Regions from separate parts of the Homo sapiens genome. Here region 1 is linked to region 2. Evidence: promoter capture Hi-C in human tissues and cell types (Jung and others, 2019). All regions are on one chromosome and are shown on one strand. The core of a region is centred on a gene start or on the middle of the fragment in contact, and the rest is flanking DNA. Distances in the headings are between cores, read along the strand shown.

The links. The method cuts DNA at HindIII sites, captures the fragments that hold promoters and counts their contacts. A contact is called where the count stands out against the background at its distance.
Region 1: a fragment that was not itself captured here is called in contact with the fragment with the promoter of LPCAT2 in region 2 in 1 of the 25 tissues and cell types used here (aorta).

Annotation. Positions count from the first base shown.
Region 1 is chr16:55,366,279-55,370,655 of GRCh38, forward strand. LOC105371279 (a long non-coding RNA gene) reads right to left here and starts at 3,287. Exons shown (of 3, transcript XR_933600.3): 1 at 3,108-3,287; 2 at 1,277-1,401; 3 at 425-840. The HindIII fragment of the contact is 4,990 bases long and covers 1-4,377 here.
Region 2 is chr16:55,506,819-55,511,124 of GRCh38, forward strand. It overlaps LPCAT2 (lysophosphatidylcholine acyltransferase 2), which reads left to right and starts at 2,254. Exons shown (of 14, transcript NM_017839.5): 1 at 2,254-2,534. The coding sequence starts at 2,364. The HindIII fragment of the contact is 8,978 bases long and covers 1-4,306 here.

The sequences.
Region 1 (4,377 bases), core at 949-3,448, 140 kb before region 2:
TCTTCTTAAAATACATTTATTTTATTTTTAAAAATTAAGTCTGCTTAAAAAAACAGGTAAATGATGGTACAAATAGTACTTAGACATGGCCAAAAATATCATAAAGGTGGTACTCAAATGAGTGATGTTGGGAAAATGCTGAGTTAATAAGTACTGAACTGATTAAAGCAGGAGTTCAGTTTACAAATGGAAATCAGAAATTATATGTACTGCGTTAAAGCATTCACTAATTCCAACCTGATACCAGTATTGATTGACTCTACTTCCTCACCCCTACACTTAGCCTAGATAACAGAGTGTAGTGAAATTATGGGTCTATAAGCATAAGGAACACTTCTAAAAAATCAGCATAATATTTTTCATTTCAACACCCAGGACACTGACAACCAGCCCCTTTCAATTGTCTGGAAAAAAAAAATAGAGATTTTGTGTTTTCTGATTTTATTGAAGCCGCCAGAAACCATCTGCACATATACCAGACATACAGGGTGACACTCATGACTCCAAATAGGCTGGCAAATTAGGCCAAGTGTATCTCTGTGTCTATAATTATCAATTGCAAATCCCAGAAAGATGTCTACAGAACTGAATCAGGAAGAAATGGGGTGCTCTCTCTCATCTCTCAGCGCAAACAAGCCTTGTTCAAGACCAATTAGCATGACTGGTGGTTCCTTCTTCCCGAAGGTTACACTTCCAGGCTGAGAGCATCTGCTGTACATCTCTTCATTTCTTTCCCATTTTGAGCAATTTGGTTCCTAAGCTCAGTTTCCTCGTGGCTTCCTGGAGCTCTGATGACAAACTGCCATACTTTGTTCCTGTCCTTTAAGGCCCTGAAGGGCACTAGAGAACACACAAAATTTGTTTCTAATTTTGCATCTGCCAAAACATTCCTATAACAATACAAGGCTATAAAAATAGGATGCAACATCCCTCTAATTCCACAAAATAAACAAATCCAAAAGGAAATTAAACACAGTCCTTGAAAATGCAGCATAAATATTTTTACACTCATTCCTCCTTTCCTTCGCTGGCGAAAACTTGTCCCTGAATTATGATTTCAGATTGTATATTTATCCTTTTATGTTTACAACAGATAATCATGACATAAGCCAATGAAAAGAAACACTAGGGCTTTCTTCTTCTTCTTGGTTTCATGTTTTGTAAAATGAATGTCCCTTGGGACAGTTTAAGAGAATGTGGAATCCAATTTCCTCACTGGTGTTAGGAGTTTTATTTTTAACTCAACTACTCAAAATAATAGACATTCTCTACGTACCCTTATCCACAGTTGGAGTACACCAGACATGAAGCAGAATTATCTTTCCATTTTCGTTTTTAGATAGTTCAGGGTAACTTAGAGTTCTGAATTCCTGAATGTTGGCCAAGGTGATGTCATTAAATCTATAATGAAAACAGTGTCACTGAGAGAATTAATTCATTATGGTGGAATTAAGTTAAATCCTTTATGATATGCTATTAAGCACCCACACTAACTTGCTTGCATCAACCTAAATGAAGCACATTCAAATGCAAAAAAGAAAAACAAGTTCCAATCTCAAACCTCATTGGATATTAGGTAACTTTCGAAGTTAAATTTAACTATTAAAAATATTTATAAATCTCATGGTATTTAAGACATCTTACATGTGTTGCAGTGGCCAAATACCTTGTGGTTTATGTAACATCTTTGCCTGAGGGAGTATAACTTACTGTATAAATCATTATTTTGTATTTTATAAATGTTTTTGCCTTATGACTCAGTTCCTGCAACAGCCAAATAGCACAAGAGCTGCCCAACATTTCATTAATCTTTAAAATATTATTACACTCAGTCCAGATATGATAAAAGTGTTGCCAGAGTTCGAAGTAACTTGATCAAGATTTTAAGGACATTTCTAATCCCCAAATTTACCATGTAATCAACAAATACTTATTTCATTAGGTCCTGGAGAGAGAAATAAACAAATAGGTTCTATTCCCTGTCCTCTAGAATTTTACAGTTCAGTCCGGAGCCATGACATATTCGTGTAAAAATCTATCCCCTTGAACCCATGCAGAAAAGGAAGAGCTATGTAACCATTAGCCATGTGCTTACAAGGGGCTATTTCTGCTTCTGACACCAAATTTCTGCTGAGTCCAGGGAAACTTCCCACTTCCTCTCTATATCCTGGCTCACCACATACTTATCTAGCATAATGACTGCCTTGAAGGGGATTGGGTTTCTTAGAGGAAAAAAACTTACGATGGTATTAAATATGAAAACTTGAATGTTAATTGTTTTTTTTTTTAATAAAGGTTACCACTTCAAAAATTAGGTCATTTCACGCTAGTGGAAAGAACATGCATTCTCATAAGATAACTGAAAGAAATCACAATTCATGTTCAAAGCATCTTGCTTCTGACACATGGCTGTTAAGTGACAAATGGAAATTTCCTGAGCTCAGTAAAACGAGTTGACAATAGGCTGCTTATAGTTTCTGTCGGAAAGCAGACTGTCAAAAAAAGTTGTAGCAATCATGCACCATCGTTAATGATGACCAGCCAAGCTCTTTGTCTGCAAAGACCATGGACCAAATATTGTCACAGTCAGTCATCGACTGTGCAAGACTCTTTTTGTACCAACCTCATGAAAAGAAATTTTATTTTTAAAGATTGCCTCTCATTACAACAAGTATTACCCCAAACGGTCGAAATAACAAAAAAGAATTTGAAGCCTAGCCAATGACCTGACTGCTTTATACAATATTGATAGGACAACCCCCTGGGCAACAAAGGAATCTGATGGTGCCTCGGTTTTCTTTGTAATGAGATTTGGCCAGGATCAGGAAAATCATGTATTTATTTAAAATGGATACCCTGACTGCTTCTCAAAAGGTTTGAAGTGGCTTGCAAAAACCAACCAACCAAACAAACAAAAAAAGCCAAGATGTTTTAAGACTTAAAAAACGTTAAGAGTACAAAAAAAGAGAAAAGAAATAATCAAATGCATTAGCAGCCCGGGCGAATGCAGCTCCTTTAATTGAGCATTAAACAAACTTAAACGTAGCATTTCCTGTTCCAGAAGCAAGCAGGGCTGAAAACTTGGCTGGTGCACCACTAAAGCTTACCAGTTGTGTTTTCGGCTGGCATCCACTCCAACTGGATGATGCTCATGCTGTATTATATGTTAAATATTGTTATCATTATTCCAGGAGCCAGGCAGAGAATAGGCACTCAATAAATGGCAGCAGTTTTCAGTATTTTTCTCCTGCATTCCCAGCTGCCATATCACCTGCAGCATTCAGTTAATATCTATTTCAAATGCACATAAAATATATTCATGTTTTCCCTTTAAGCATCTGACTGTTAAGTGCCCTCTACCAGCAAAAGGAGGCAAGGACGTGATCTTTCTTGGGGCTCTATTTTCCTCTATAGGAGAAATGAGTACAAGAGGCCACAGCTTAATCGATGTTTACCAAAAATCTGACTTTTTGTTCCTAGCTGGGATTTTGCAACCACATTATAAATAACTTGAGTAACACACGAGGAGGATGCACCAATTCTAGTCCATTGCTGAATAATGTGTAAACACTATATGGAGTTTCTTTCATGTCTGCAAAAAAGGCGGGGGGGGGGCACGTTTCTCTCCTTTTCTCTAATTTTCTTTATATTTAAGTTTCTCACCTCTGGAGGAGTGCATGGAGCTAATTGTGCATTTCCCTTGTGTGAATAAAGGACGGAGTGTCTGCTTTCACTTCAAATTGCTTGGCCCTCAATCAACATCACCATAAATGTGACATATGAATATTAAATCCAAATATTTTATTGGTGCAGATAAATATGATTTGTAAAAAGAGTCAAATTAACAATCCATTACATACTAATGGGCTCTAATCAATAAGTTTAATTTGACTAAAAGGAGAGGGGCGGGGATGGAGGGGGAGAAAAGAGACTCAATTACACCCAAATGGTGCCATTTAAAATTATAAAGGTGACTGACTTCTACAACTTTTCAGCTGTATTCTGACTTGGGGGCTTATGGACCCAACACCGGAGCTGTGTTGAAAGTGAGCATCTGTCTGTGGTTTACACTCATATTTCCAATTATTTTTCTTTAAAATTAACCACTGTAAATACAAAAAGTACTGAGAACAATGCAAACGAACAAGATCCCACAAAACAGAAAGAAAAACGTGTCTTTTAAAAGCCGTATTTGCTCCAGATTAGTTTAGTAAAAATGAAACAATGCACATAAATCCGAAGTTTCTTTTGTCCCGTCTCTATCTTAGCCTTCTCTTTCCCTTCCTCCTTCTCCAGCGGCTGGACTAAATGTTGTATGTTTCCTTCTTGCCTTCATTTCTGTACTTTCACTACATCTAGAGGAATCCAGAAGCCATG
Region 2 (4,306 bases), core at 1,004-3,503:
AAAACACCCCCACCACCTTCAAAACCGCTCCTGCTACCCTCCACCACCCCCAAAACCACGCTGGGTAAACACAGCTAAGGGAGAAATACTGTGCTTGCTTCTAAACACAGCTGGTATTAATGGATAAGCTCCTTACTCCTTCCTACCAGTCTACCCACTCCTAATCTCCTACATAGAAATTCTGGAGCTACTGCTGAACAGAAATTGAAGGCCTGGGGTTTTTCTGAGGCCCTTTCTGGCTCCGATAGTCTGATTGATAGTATATATATTGCTTCTGGCCTCTTATGATGGGGCTGGTGAGGAAGGTGCGTAAGGAGTGAACTCTACAGGTGACCTCCTCAGTGAGCCTGATGTCATTGTTTCTATCTCTTTTTTCTGTTTTTGAGATGGAGTCTCACTCTGTCACCCAGGCTGGAGTGCAATGGCGCAATCTCGGCTCACTGTAACCTCTGCCTCCCAGGTTTAAGTGATTCTCCTGCCTCAGCCTCCCAAGTAGCTGGGATTACAGGTGCACGCCACCATACCCAGCTAATTTGTTTTGTATTTTGGTAGAGACAGGTATCACCGTGTTGCCCAGGCTGGTCTCGAACTCCTGAGATCAGGCAATCCACCCATCTCGGCCTCCCAAAGTGCTAGGATTATTGGTGTGAGCCACCACTCTCGGCCCCATCTTTTCTATCTTTTATCCTCCCATGGCCTGTCCCCTTGACTCAGATTCTTTTTGTTTCTTCTTCTTCTTTTTTTTTCTTTTTTGAGACAGTGTCTTTCTCTGTCACCCAGGCTGGAGTGCAATGGCATGATCATAGCTCACTGCAGACTTGATCTTCTGGGCTCAAGCAATCCTCCCACTTCAGCCTCCTGAGTAGCTGGGACTGCAGGCATGCAACAGCACAGCCAGCTAATTTTTAATTTTTTTTAGAGATGGTGGAGTCTCTCTTTGTTGCCCAGGCTGGTCTCGAACTCCTGGGCTCAAGGGATCCACCCTCCTCAGCCCCCAAAGTGCTAGGATTACAGGCGTGAGCCACTGCACCTGGCCTGGCTTAGGTTGTTGACAGTTGGAAAGACATCTTTCTGTGCAGGTATCTGGCTAAAGAGTCTCAAGGGTCTGCCAGTCCCAACTTGAAGACCCCCTAGACTGGGGAATCTTCTATCATGGCTGTAATGCACTGTTATTAATGTTCCCTGTTACACTGAGAGAAAAGTCAGTGGCTCCACAACATAATAATGCTTAAAACATGCCATTTCTTCAGTGTTTCTCTATGAACACTACACATGCATTATTTTATTTAATCCTTGCTACAATTCTATGGAGTTAGAATGAATCTCCCATTCCTAGACAAGGAAGCAAACTCAGGTTAAGTGACTGACTCAAGGCCACACATCTATGTGGTAGGGCTGGAAGATTCTGACATTCAGAGGGTAACTTTGGAGAACCCCAGGGCTCAGACTCAGATTTTCATCCTGGCCTTCCTACCTGCTGTGAGAAGAGTTGATCAGTTGGGATGAGTTGATTATCATCTCCTTCCTTTAACTCTCAGCCACTCAGGGTTGATCAACTGTCCTCAGATAATGGGACAAACCCCTGCCCTCCCACCCCCACGAGCACCCACATAGGTCCAAACAGGCTTGAACTTCCTCAGTGTGAAAGGGAGCCACAGCCCAATACATTTCCCTTTTCTGGGTCAGGTTCCTCATCTAGCGTGGAGGGCAACTGTAATTTTTGCCTTTTCTGGTAATAGTAGCTCAGTTTTCCTCTGGAGAACCATCTCTCCCCTGTCAGTCCATTATGTTTTGAGTGAAACAAATTCCACTCCTAGTGCCATCATGGGTGTATTAATATTAGCTCACTTAATGGAACAGCCCAGGGGAAGTGGTTGCTCAATGGCATTACTGGATCCAGGTTAGGATTATCTGAGAATACATTTATCTGCATTTTACGGAAGGCAACCGAGGTTCATAGAGATAGTGATTTGGCCAGCGTCACAGGCCCAGTAAAAGGGATTGAAAATCCAGGTCCGTCCGACCCTAAAGCAGGGAACTCTGCCTAGTGTCTCGCTGTGGAATGTTAGGGATCCTGGGGTACCCTTCAGGGTCTTGGCTCGGAAGGAAAACATTCCCCTCCGAGGGGATGGACTATATTACCAAGGGGGTGGAGCCAGATGCCTGAGGGGGTGTGGCCAGAGCCTGGGGCGTGTCACAGCCGAAGGGGCAGGGCGGCAGCAGCAGGCGTCTAAGTAACTTCAGCGCCTGCGCAGAGGCTCCCCAGCGTCGCCCTAGGCTGGGACTCTAGTAGGTCTTCGGCTCAGTTTTGGCTGCAGCGCCCGCGTAGATCGCTTCGGCCGGGTTCTACGCCCGGCTCAACTATGAGCCGGTGCGCCCAGGCGGCGGAAGTGGCGGCCACAGTGCCAGGTGCCGGCGTCGGGAACGTGGGGCTGCGGCCGCCCATGGTGCCCCGTCAGGCGTCCTTCTTCCCGCCGCCGGTGCCGAACCCCTTCGTGCAGCAGACGCAGATCGGCTCCGCGAGGCGGGTCCAGGTGAGGGGCGTGGGTCTGAGGGGAGAGGTGGTCTGAGGGGGGCCTAGGTCAGAGGGGGGTCCAGGTAAGGGGTGTGGGTCTGAGAGAGGAGGGCGGCCGAGGGGGGCGTGGGTCTGAGGGAGTGAGGTGGTCCGAGGCGGGCGAGAGTCTGAGGAGGGAGGTGGCCTGAAGGGGGCATGGGTCTGAGGAGGGAGGTGGCCCGAGGGGAGCCAGGGTCTGGGGCGGGTCCAGGTGACTGGTGTAGGTCTGACGGGGGAGGGCGGTCGAGGGGCGCGTGGGTCTGAGGGGCGTTGTGGGTCTGGGAAGCAAAGGCATCAGAGGAAGAAAGAGCAGTGGATCTGAGAGGAGAGGACTTCTGAGGGGCCGTGAGCCTGAAAGGGGCGGAGATGTGTGTCTGAGAATTGAGGACATTTAGAGGATGGTCTGAGCGGGCACGGGAGGAGAGAAGATGCTGGGAAGATGCGGGCCTGAGAGGAGAATCCAAAACAGGAAGAGACTGAGCTGGCTGGTGGCGCAGGCTACATTCCATGCCCCAGAAGGTTGAAGGAATCTGTGAATCTGTGACAGAAGCTTCAACTTGAGTTTATGAGAGTGTAGTGGGAGGCAGATCTACTACGGGAGAGTAGATTTGAAGAAGTCTTTTTTTTTTTTTTTTTGCCTTAGGAAGGAGAGGAGTCAGTATGGGATGGATAAGAGTGAGGCAGAAGGCAGAGAGCCTAGGTCTGTGGTTAGAACAACAGGTAAGGCTGGAAAGATTTAGCTGAGCAGGAGCATGATGGAGGGTGGGAAGTCAGAATCAAAGAAAAGGGACAACTGAGTCAGCTTAGGATGTTCAAGAAGTTTTGGTCCAGAATCAGTCTTCACCTAAAAACGTTTCCTAAGTTGAAGCATGAGAAGTAGTAGCCCAGGCTGTTTTCCATTGTTAAAAATGGCTATACTGTTATGCACAAAGGAAGTTTCCTTTCCTTTCCTTTTTCTTGTAAAGGGTTCCTTTTACCATTGGCAGTTGCACTCTTTGGACTTCCTCTTTGTTGAAGTTAGTGATCAGAGAACAAGATAGACCCTGCTAACCACATTTGTCCGTGTGTTCTGCGGGGGTTGGGGGGGTGGGGGAACAATTTTGAAGTTTTCATGTCCATCTCACACATTACTTTGGATTTGAAGCAGTATAATATTTGCAATCAGCTTGTATGCACTAAGACCATTGTCCTCTACAGTGGGGGAAGGTTAAGTGCAGAGCTAAACAACACAGGTGGTGGCTTGAGTAATGGTAGATGGGTGTCTGGTTGAAGAGGGGTGTGAGAGAGGAAGAAGATAAAGAATGTAGTAATACTGCTTTGTGAGGAAATTAAACGTTTAAAAATGTGATCCTCATGTCTTTAAATTAATAGATATTCTTTTTGTGTCTTCACATTCTGAAACATTTGTAAATACATAGACCATTGTTCAAGATTAAATTTAGTCTGATTTAATTAAATCATACTTAAATGAAAATATGCCCATCTATTTGACTTCATATTTTGGAAAGAAACAGCATGGAATGTTGACAAATATTTATATTGCACCTATAATAAATTATTAAGTTTTTCCATCACCTGGTTTGTTACTGTTTAAAGATCTCTTCCAAATAACTCTCTGAGAGTTATAGTATAATGGAATGATAGCTAGTCAGTTATAGGAACTGGTCATTTATTAGTTGTATGACTTTGGCCAAGTCACTTAACCTCTCTGAACTATACTTTTCTCGTCTATTACATTGGAATATTAATAAC